Linked DNA regions of Homo sapiens: region 2 is linked to region 1. The links are contacts of gene promoters, found by promoter capture Hi-C in blood cells and fetal thymus (Javierre and others, 2016). All regions are on one chromosome and are shown on one strand. Each heading gives the region's core, a stretch centred on a gene start or on the middle of the fragment in contact. The rest is flanking DNA. Distances are from core to core; before and after follow the strand shown. Region 1 holds the start of RPS7 (ribosomal protein S7). Region 2 overlaps NBAS (NBAS subunit of NRZ tethering complex).

What was found. Contacts are between HindIII fragments. The CHiCAGO score rates a contact against its expected background, and 5 or more counts as called.
Region 2: a fragment that was not itself captured here is called in contact with the fragment with the promoter of RPS7 in region 1 in 1 of 17 cell types (monocytes); the score reaches 7.3 in monocytes.

The regions. Positions count from the first base shown.
Region 1 is chr2:3,572,542-3,578,172 of GRCh38, reverse strand. RPS7 (ribosomal protein S7) reads right to left here and starts at 2,913. Exons shown (of 7, transcript NM_001011.4): 1 at 2,823-2,913; 2 at 2,489-2,581; 3 at 2,285-2,356; 4 at 1,543-1,686; 5 at 399-463. The coding sequence starts at 2,563. It overlaps LOC124907726 (a long non-coding RNA gene), which reads left to right and starts at 3,064. Exons shown (of 2, transcript XR_007086196.1): 1 at 3,064-4,038. RefSeq lists a silencer at 2,367-2,656 and enhancers at 2,208-2,784, 2,785-3,360. The HindIII fragment of the contact is 5,628 bases long and covers 1-4,253 here.
Region 2 is chr2:15,554,616-15,560,246 of GRCh38, reverse strand. It overlaps NBAS (NBAS subunit of NRZ tethering complex), which reads left to right. Exons shown (of 52, transcript NM_015909.4): 2 at 1,613-1,667; 3 at 3,428-3,464. Among named protein-coding and RNA genes, the nearest start is that of NBAS, 3.9 kb to the left of the region's middle. The HindIII fragment of the contact is 1,221 bases long and covers 3,140-4,360 here.

The sequences.
Region 1 (5,631 bases), core at 1,664-4,163:
ATCACCAAAATCCACCTACATTTTTTTACCTCCAATCCACAGCAAAAATAAAAATCAAAGATAAATCCAAGCCCATGTCAACTGTGTCTAGCATGCTATATCACAGAATTAAAGTAATGATTTCCTTCTCATCATTCCTATCCTGTGCACAAATAATCGGAGGAAATCATCTCATCTTGTGACAGCACTGACCTAGTAGGCAAACAATGGCTACATGAATACATGTATGTTTTACATCTAGAATTCTAAAACGTATCATGTGCAACTATACAGGAAACCAAATGCTGCTACTCAAAAATTCCCACTTGAACATCTGTTTTCATAAACTACAACTTAAACAAATTAAGAGTTGTTAATAAGAGGGGTACACACATTTCTGAAACTACTAAAATACTCACCTCCTGGGACGCTTTTGCTTATTTTTTGTACGGCTTTTTCGAGTTGGCTTAGGCAGAATTCTCCTCTGTAAGGTAAAAATTATCATGTAACAAAATGAAAAAAGACTTTAAATTGACAAAAAGCTGTAACTGCCATACTGCTTTAAAAGCAAGAAGAATGGCAGGGTAAGTTCAAAGTTCGAGAAGGCTAAACAACTTAGACGAACAATTGACTGAGCAAACCCTTCTATGGAGTTACTTCCTGATTCTTGAATAAATCATTCAGAATCCACAGCCTCTACTAATACGCCAGTGGACAAAATCTCCCAGATACGCCTTTCCCCATGCCTATGACCCAGAATACTACTTTTATTCCAGATCAATCCTGGCACTTCATTCCCCATAGACTTCAGTTTGCACCAATCCCCCATCCGAACTGTAACAGGTTTCTTCTTTTTTTGAGATGGAGTCTCGCTCTGTCGCCCAGGCTGAAGTTCAGTGGCGGGATCTCGGCTCACTGCAAGCTCCACCTCCCGGGTTCACGCGATTCTCCTGCCTCAGCCTCCCGAGTAGCTGGGACTACAGGCGCCCACCACCACGCCCAGCTAATTTTTTGTATTTTTTAGTACAGACGGGGTTTCACCGTGTCAGCCAGGATGGTCTCGATCTCCTGACCTCGTGATCCGCCTGCCTCAGCCTCCCAAAGTGCTGGGATTACAGGAGTGAGCCACAGGGCCCGGCCTGTAACAGGTTTCTTAGTTTGATCATCTATGTAAGCAACCCACTAGACTTGTGGAAATTTAAATATGGGAAATCATTTTCATAACTCAAAACACAGCAGTCTGTCACTTTACAGACTTCTTGTTTCGACTCTTAATTAAAGAACGTACTTTATCTTTCTTTTTAAAACTTATTTTTTCTATTTTTTGTAGACAGGGTCTTACCATGTTGCCCAGGCTGGTCTCTACAGTGATCCACCCGCCTCCACCTCCCCGTGCTGGGATTACAGGCCTAAGCCACGGCGCTCTGCCTGTACTTTATCTTTCTACCCAATTGGATTCATAAAAGGATTGTTTTCATGACTCCAACTACCAATGCAGTCTAAATACAAGCAATTTTAGCAAAATTCACAAACAGAAACGTGCTGCAACAGTAGAACAGATACCTGAGCGATAAAGACGACATGCTTCCCACTGAACTTTTTCTCCAATTCGCGTACTAGCCGGACTTGGATTTTCTGGAAAGATTTCAGTTGAGGAACGGGAACAAAGATTATGATAGCTTTCCGACCACCACCAACTTCAATTTCCTAAAGAAAAAAACAAAAATCCACTGTGTTAACTGCTTCAGAAAGTAAACGTTGTGGTCAAATTAGAGGATAAGAAGACCTTATCACTAACACCGTAGCTGCACTACAAACTAATACTAGTTTTGAGTTAATCATAAATGCATCCTTCGGAAATGTTCTCATCTCTCTCCAACCTTCACATTTCCTTATTCCAGGAAGGGAGACTGTTCAGGCCAGGAGGCCAATCACTACCACTTCTGCACCCCCACTTGCGGCAACTCCGGGCTAAGGGTAGAGAGAATCTCATCCTGAGCTCCCCACAGCTCTTTGCCGTATCTATAACTAAGTAAGGGCAAATAAGGTCCGAAATGGGCCCAGGCCCTCCCTACTCCACGTTTCTCCACCGCCCGCATGTGGACAGCTTAAGCCGCAGGGTACCTGCAACCCCACTCCCCGCACCTGGGCGGTATCACTCCCAAACAACACGGCCGAACCTGAGTTCAGGTTAGGCGGCCAGGCGGCAAGTCATCATCAACCGTAACCCAGGTCCAACCCTCTCAGGCACTGCGCGGGGAGACGCGCCGCAACCTCCCTCCCAGCCGAGGGAGCGCCAGCTTACCTTAGCTGCCGTAATATTCAGCTCCCTGAGCTGAGCCTTGAGGTCCGAGTTCATCTCCAGCTCCAGAAGAGCCTAAGAAGCAACGAACAGCAGGACCGACCCTGAGCGCGCGTCCGAGCACCCCGGGCCCAACACACGCGCGGCCGCCTCCCCTCCCGGGCGGGGCGCCTCCCCCCACCCCAGACCCCAGGGAAACCCTCTCACCTGGGAGATGCCGGACTCGAACTCGTCCGGCTTCTCGCCATTGGGCTTCACGATCTTGGCGCTCGAACTGAACATGGCTTTCTCCTGGGAGAACTGAAGGCACAGCGGTCAGCGTTACGCGGCCCGGGCTGCAGGCGCCGCTGGCTCGCCCTCCCGCCCGCACCCCCCGGCCAGGCCCCGCTCGCCCCGCAGAAGCCATCGGAAAGCACAGGGCGGGTAATCGGCTGTATCCCCACCCTGTGAGCAAGGCTCGCCCCTCCAGGGCCTGACTCCAAAAGGCGTTTTCCTCAACCCAAGAAGAAAAGTTCTGTCGGAGAGCAGGCCGCCAACCTACCTTGCCGAGCGCCGGCTTAGGAAGAGACCCAAATCTCGCGAGAGCACGTCAAAATCCGGCGTCCGAAGGCAAGAGGCGGAAACAGCGCGAGGAGGAGGGCGGAAACCGGAACATCACTGAGAAGCGGTAGGAGGCTAGAGAGTCCCAGGAAGCGGCTCTGGGGACGAGTGTCTTGGTAACGCTTTTCCGCCCTAGGATTCGTACTTTGGTGCCGTTTCCGAGCGTTCCGGTACCGGCTCCCAAGGTTCCCGTCTTCAGTGCAGGTTGCAGGCGGGAACCGGCCTCGTCCCAGCCCTGGGCCTGGGAGAGAGAAGGAGGCCGAAGAAAACCAACTTCGGCAACCTCCGGAGACAGGACGTTTAAAAAAGGCTAACTTGGCTGGGCGCTGAGGCTCACGCCTGTAATCCCAGCACTTTGGGAGGCCGAGGCAGGAGGATCACTTGAGCTCAGGAACCAGCCTGGGCAACATGGCGAGACCCCATGTCTACAAAAAAAAAAAAAAAAAAATTAGCCAGTCATGGTGGTGCGCGCCTGCAGTCCCAGCTACCCCGGAGGCCGACGCGGGAGGATCGCTGGAGCCGAAAGGTCGAGGCTGCCGTGAGCCGAGGTTGCACCACTGCACTCCAGCCTGGGCGACAGCGCAAGACCCTGTCTAAAAATAAATTTAAAAAAAATTGCGAGGCCTTCATTCTATGCTAGTACTGTACTAGGTGCTAATTATTAAGTAAAACCGACTGAACTCTTGCCCTCATGGAGCTTACAGTTCAGTGGAGAAGACATTACCTAAAGCAGTATGACTAAATATATAATGACATATTGTAATAACTTACATAACAGTACAATGAGAGGGTGGGGAGGGATTATTTATGCTTTAAGAAGTCGGGAATCCTGGAACGGAATGACATTAGACTGAGACACGGAAGAGCCGCAGGATCTATTGCTGGGGAAGAGCATTCCAGACAGGGAGGAACTCGTGCCGAATGATCCCGCTGTGGACAGGGAATTTAATCTGAGCTTCGGTTTCCTCTTCTGTCAAATGTCATGCAAGAGTTACTTTCAGCCGTGGTCCAGGCACTGTGAAAAATGCAGAAGCCACACTAGGTGCCCTCTCTCAGGATTCCCAACCACCTTTACCAAGCAGAGATGGTATTCATCCCACATTTTTAATGCTAGATATGCTCCCGCCCGGTGCTTCTCTAATAATGTTTTTTAAAAGGTAAGTGACTGTCTCCTTGGAAAATTAAGGATAACTTGAAGTTTCTTCCAGATAGAAAGTAAACTACAGCTGCGTCTACAATCTCATCTGGGCAGTCGTTCTGAGCCCTTTTGTCGAACTAGGTCCATTTCCTTACTCCACATGCACTTTTCGACCTGGCTTTTATCTCTGCTGCTCTATAAAAGTAGTAATCTAAAAGTTCATCCAGTAAAGCTTTTTCTCTGTGAACCTATCACTTGAGAACAAAAAAAATTAAAGTTATTTCTGGTTTCCAGTCCTTTGTTGAATAGGAGTGGTGAGCAAGGACATCCGTGCCTTGTTCTCCATCTTAGGGGAAAACCATTCAGTCTTTCACCATTAAGTATAATATTAGCTCTAGGATTTTGCAGGTATTTTTAATCAAATTCAGGAAGTTCCCTCTGTTTCTATTTCTGAGAGGTTTTTTTAAAATCATGGGCCGGGCACGGTGGCTCACGCCTGTAATCCCAGCACTTTGGGAGGCCGAGGCGGGTGGATCACGAGGTCAGGAGATCGAGACCATCCTGGCTAACACGGTGAAACCCCGTCTCTACTAAAAATACAAAAAATTAGCTGGGCGAGGTGGCGGGCGCCTGTAGTCCCAGCTACTCGGGAGGCTGAGGCAGGAGAATGGCGTGAACCGCCGGGGGCGGAGCCTGCAGTGAGCCGAGATCGAGCCATTGCACTCCAGCCTGGGTGACAGCGAGACTCCATCTCAAAAAAAATATATAAATAAAAAATAAAATAAAATCATGAATGGATGTTGGAGTATGTCAAATGCATTGTTTCTATGAACTAATATGATTATGTGAGTTTTTCTTTTTAGCTGTTAATGTGCTGTTAATATACATAAATGCTTTTCCTTTCTAACTCTTTAGCTTTGAGCCTCATGAGATCCTAAGAAATGTGATTTTTAAAACCTAGAACCTGATAGAAGTTGATAGAGGTTGCACATGTATTTTTAATAGGTAGTTTCAGGATCATAATCACAACTTAGAGGGTCATTCTACTAATTTTATGTTAGGAAATGCCTACTAATCATTACATTAGATTGTTTTCCTGGTTTTACTAGTACTAGCTTCTTTATTATTTAACCATACAATAAGTGAGTCGATAATACCAACATGATTGACAATGAACAGAAATATCATCTATGCAATCCACTTACTTTTAGAACACTTTGTTAACTCTTTTATGTATCATTATGGACATGGGACATTTCAGATTTGCTGTACATCAATCAGTCTCAGCCAATATTCTCCTTTGATCCTCAAATTGTCTCAGTTGTGACCAGGAGGGGCCCCTCTTAGATAAGCAGCCGAGTCTTGTCATTTCTATGAATGTCTGAACATCTTGTTTTCTGGCACAAGATATTCCAGGCTCCTCTTGTAATTTTCTGCCTGAGACATAGAATGAGCCTTTTCTCCTAGAAGTGCTGATACTTTTGTTTTTGTTTTTCTGGAAAAATAGTACTGGAGACCAGAATTTTGGCAGCAGGAGGCATCGTGGGGCTCCTCATAAGCCGTTTCAGCGGACAGAACTTAGAAAGATGGCATTTAAAATAATTTTTTCATA
Region 2 (5,631 bases), core at 2,501-5,000, about 12 Mb before region 1:
TTTTGGATCCATGTTTATTTAACAGATATTTATTGAGTGCTTAACACGTGCCAGTTACTGTTTTAGACCCAGAGGAAGCAGCCAGATCGAAAAGAACCTTTATTAAAGATTATGTAGTCCAGCCCATGTGAGTTATCTTACATTTTTTCTGAGTGTTTCTTTGCTGGAGAAACGACTCATTTTTCAGCCCAAAGTTTGTATTTTTTTCCTCTGTAGCCTCCTTCCCACTGCAGTTTGTGCTTATCATGAATAATTTATTTTGTAGACGGGTAGAGATCTGCATATATTACTGTTTAATTTCAAGTACTTAGTTTGTCTTAATGTGAATATTTTTTGGGTTATGCAGCTAGGAAGCTGTTGCTGAGGCAGCTGGTTAGATAAGTTTCCACTCCTTAACACTCATTGGTTAATTGCAGTAATGTTTCAGAATGCTTACCATAAATTGATTCCAAAAAAGTAACCACAGAATTAACTTACTTTGAAACCCTTAGCACTTTGTTTTGTGTTTGTGTGTTGGGGGTGGGGGAGTTCAATTGATTTCTGCATTCTATCGATTTCTGCATTCTGTTGATTTCAGCTGTTGAATTATAAGCTCTTGGAGGGCAGACATCTGATTCATCTTTATATCTCTTCCCAGGGCCAAATTGTGTCTTGCATGAATCCAACAATCAATTCATGTTTATTGAGTGAAATAACTTTTCTGTGTTTTTTAAAAAAATCTGTCTACACTTACTGTATGTCCATTGTGCTTTTCTTGACAGCACTTTAGTGCATCTTATGCAGTGCCTAGCGTCATGAACCTACCCACGGTGTGTTCAGTCTATACTTATGGAATGGAATTATTTAATATAGCAATTACGTATCTGTGTATGTTTTGTTAGTAGCATTGTCTGTATAGATACACAACAGATAGTCAATGAATTGGCCTTGGAGATATGACCACTTTTCCTGTGAGCAAAACTTACAGCCTCAATAGAGTATGCTGAACTGGCAACCAGTATGGTCTTTGGCCTTGACTTCTCTTGTCTTTGGATTGGTTTTTGATTTGGAAACAGTTTCCAGCTTCAATCCTTGTTCTTTCCTGCAAGGTTAGTCCTGACATGTGCCTGTAGCTCTGCTATGCTCACTTTTCTCCTATTGTCCCGCGTCCTGTGTCTACTTTTTTTTTTTTTTTTTTTTTTTTTGAGGCAGGGTCTCACTCTGTCACCCAGGCTGGAGTGCAGTGGCATGATCAGGGCTCACTGTAGCTTCGTAGCTTCAACCTCCTGGGTCACCTCAGCTTCCCAAGTAGCTGGGACTATAGGCATGCACCGCCATGCCTGGCCAATTTTTGTATTTTTTGTAGAGATGAGGTTTTGCCACGTTGCTCAGGCAGGTCTGGAGCTCCTGGGCTCAAGCAGTCAGCCCACCTTGGCATCCCAAAGTGCTGAGATTACAGGCGTGAGCCACTGCACCTGAACATCCAGTCTTTAAGTAGTTTTAAGACACTGCTTCCCTGTGCCCAAAACTCTGAGTATTAGTAAATAAAAATAAGTTTACATATTGTATAAGTAATACTGGTCTAATACTACTAGAAGATTCAAATGTAAGTGTTTTTTGTTTTAAATTCCAGCCTAGAGGCAACCAAAAACATGGTGCATCCTTTATCATCACGAAAGCAATTCGAGGTAAATATAGCTTATTTCTCTACAGTAATGATATGGTTAACAGTTAAAATGTGTTCTTTAGACTTCTGATGTGGAGCCTAATAAAAGTAATGTGTGTTATCTGAGTTTAATTATATATATATTTATATATACACACATATGTATGTATATGTATACATTTGTATATTTACGCATGCACGTTTTTAGCTCTAATGCAGCTTAGAGCTAAAGTATATAGCTTTGGTTTAACCATTATGGATGTATTCTAGAACAGGTGTCCTCAATTCCTGGGCCATGGACTGGTACCAGTCTGTGGTCTGTTAGGAAACAGGCTGCATAGCAGGAGGTGAGCGATGGGTGAGTGAGCATTACCACCTGAGCTCCACTTCCTGTCAGATAAGCGGCAGCATTAGATTATCAGGGAAGTGCAAACCCTATTGTGAACTGCACGTGTGAGGGATCTAGGTTGCATGGAAAAATTGTCTTCCACAAAACCAGTCCCTGGTGCCAAAAAGGTTGGGGGACGCTGTTCTAGAAGGAATGAAGGTCAAAGCCAGTATGAGTCTCAGAAAGTCAGTGGATGTTGAAGGTGAAAATACACTGAGAGACTATTTTAAGAGGTCTATGTGGTGTTTCAGATAGATCTGGTCAGAGATACTCAAATTACAGATTTGATAAGCCAGGGTATTCATTTAACTCCTGACAAATTTTACGTATGAACTAACAAGAGTCTGAGAAAGGATTGAGCACTAGGTTTACTGAGCTGGTGCCATGACGGGTTTACCATATTCATTAATAGAGTCCTTTTATCAGACCAGAAAGGTGCCGTTACTCCTTTATGATTTTAGATAAGAAAACTTGCTCAAGGTCATTCATTTGGAATTTGACTGCATGTCTTTCTGGCTTCAAAGTCCATCCTTATACCAGTGAATTTAAGTTCCTTATAAAGAGAAAATTCATTTTCACAGAAGTTAAGTACTTGAAATTAACTGTAATCTTCTGATTATCCTTTTATCTTCTGATAAAATTACAGTTAATTATAGTTAATTTTATCTTCTGATACAAGAAGCACTAGCATATTCAGTTTTCATAATGACAAATGCTTTTAAATTTTGAGAATTTAGAAAATGTGTACAAATAATAAAAATTCATTGTAGAAAATACAGACACTATAGATAACTACAAATTAGAAAAAAATTTGTCCTCATACCACCTAGAGAGAATCTGTTATTCTTTAGATATTTTTCCATTGATATATACCTAACTGCATACACAGGTACACACATACATGTACATTTAGGATGATAGAAAGCATTGTTTTTTATAGCGTGTTAGAGGTTTTGTTTTCCGTGGGCTTTCCCATTTTAGGTATTACTGTTTTAAAAATCTTTGCTATAAAGTGTAAAATATATCTTGCTTTAATTTTTTATACAAATATTTTGGTTTCTAAGGGGTGATTATTATAACTTCTAGTCCATGGTTTCATGAAAGCTTCTTAGATTAAATTTAACATCTCAAACTGCTTTTATTTCTTGAACAGTTAGGAAATACTTGAAACTTTTGAATAACACACAAACATGGAATTTAATAAGTATATGACCCTGTAAATGTTACAGTGTATATTAGGTTATATTTAGTCTCTCATTTTAAGACTTGAGTTCTTTATTTTTTTTAATGACTCGCTCTGTAGTATATTTTAGATTTCTCATCTATAAATCTAATTTGAAAATGATTCTTAACAGCTGATTTATATTTGGCTTTGCCATTTCTTTTGATTACAGATCGTTTATTATTTTTACGCCAATACATCTGGTACAGGTGAGTCTTCGGTTCTTCAGAGAAACAGTATGAACATCAAATATAAACAATATTGTTCTATATATGATTTGTTTTCATAATTGAATTCTAGATCATGATAAAGTTGCTGACATTCAGGCAAACTCAGTATGAGACATTTCAAACATTTAGGTAGAATCTGACAAGATATCTCAGTAGACTTAGGGTAGTTTTTGTTCCCTTAGTTACTATTAAGAATGTCTCATGACAATTTCTGCTTCCTCTGATGACTATTCTCAGGCTTATCTTGAATGTCCATATGAAGCATCTGTAGCCTGCATATCTTTTAAAATACATTTTTGTTCTTGTCATGTCATCTCACTTGTGGTTAATATTCAACTGCTGTATATCAGAGAAGGTTCTTTAGGTTTCAGTTCTTGTATATTTTTTAATTCCTTGAGTGTTAAGTATATTTGCAGGGATGATGCTAATTTCCAGCTTTAGAAAGAACAAAGAAATTATTATTATGACAAAAAAGTTATAATTCTGCTTTTAGATACATGTGTAGGAATTGTTTTATAGAATTATTTACATAGATTGCTTCTTCGTTGAGGATATCTTGTCGTAAAGTTCCAGAGATAATATAGTTCCATAAAAGAGACCTTTGGCGTTCTCTAGGACTTGCTCCAACGTCTTTCTGCTTTTACTCTATGTATGTGTGTGTGTATGTGCATACATGTATATATGTATGCATATTTACAATTTCTATACTTAATTGTGTCACTTTTTTTGTGGGTGTGGGATATGATAGGATAGAGCAATGAGTAGGAAGAGAGAGTGGAAGGAGAGGATAGGAGTGTGGGAGGTGGGCTGTGTTTTCTGACTTCTCTAGGCGACAGCTTGTTAGTCCTGAACACCCTTGGATGAGGTGTCAAGCTTGTCTTGTTCAGGTTGCTGCTTGATAATTCTTTTTTTTATTTATTGAGAAGGAAGACTCAAAAAGTTAACTCTGCTACAAGCCCTGTCCTCTGTGTGAGAACCTTATGATCAGGCATCAGAAGTAGGTATCTTTTTGTCTCCCTTCCTCCTGAGAAGCCTTTTTCCTTGAATCATTGTACAGGTTGCAAATGCACCATTAAGTGATTCATCTGTCTCATGATATGCTGCTTTCAAAAAGATTATAGTTCAATTTGTGCTCTTGAGTTTATGGTAATTAAACCCAAAGGTTTTGGGGTCAGTATTTGTTTCAAGTGACTTTTTCTTCTTTTTTTAAAAAAGTTCTTTTAATTATGAAATATAAACATACTGAGAATTATTGACAATATAATAAACCTGTATCAGCTAGCTCTTTTTGTTTTTATGCAAAATGTTACATCTCAAGTCCTTTCCCTTTTTCTTTTCCCTTCCCTTCTAGAGGAAATTATCATCCTCATATAGGTAGTATTCACATACATGTTTTGTATCTTCATTATATTTTTGTAACTGTCTTTTGATATTATTTTGTGTTTTAAAAAATGAGCGTAAATGTACTACATGTATATTACTAATTTTTTTTTTTTTTTTAAGAGAGGGTCTTATTGTGTTGGTCAGGCTGGAGTATAGTGGCTATTCACAGGCAAGATCATGGTACACTGTAGCTTTAAACTCCTGTGCTCAAGCAATCCTCCTGCCTTAGCCTCCCGTGTAGCTGCGACTATAGGCACATACCATTGTGCCTGGCCACTAACATTTTGGAATCCTATTTTGTGTTTTCTGATTTCCATAATTTATTTTTTTTCTATTTCATGAAATTATGTTCTTTATTCTTCTTTTCCATCTGTTTTCTTGATTTCTTCGGGTATTAATCCTCTAATTTGCTGTGTCTGCTTACTCACTTATGATGAGTAGTTTCGTGTCTTTTGTGAATGGTTTTATTTTGAACTTATGCTTGCAGATTCTTGCATCACATGAGTAAAGTGAAATTGTAATCTGATCTTACATATAGTACAGACTTGGACTTTTACTTTTTCATAGGAGATTTTATTCTTATCCTCCACAGAACCATAGTTCCAGGGAGAGAAGAGAGTCTTTAGTCTCCCTGGGCCTATGGTGAGGTGTTTCTAGTTCTTTCAATGACCTGGTGCAGTCATTTGAGCATCCTGGCCTTTGCAGGAGTCTCACTTCCAACTCCTGTCCTCTCTTTGGTTCAGTAGCTCATTTCCTATCTCGT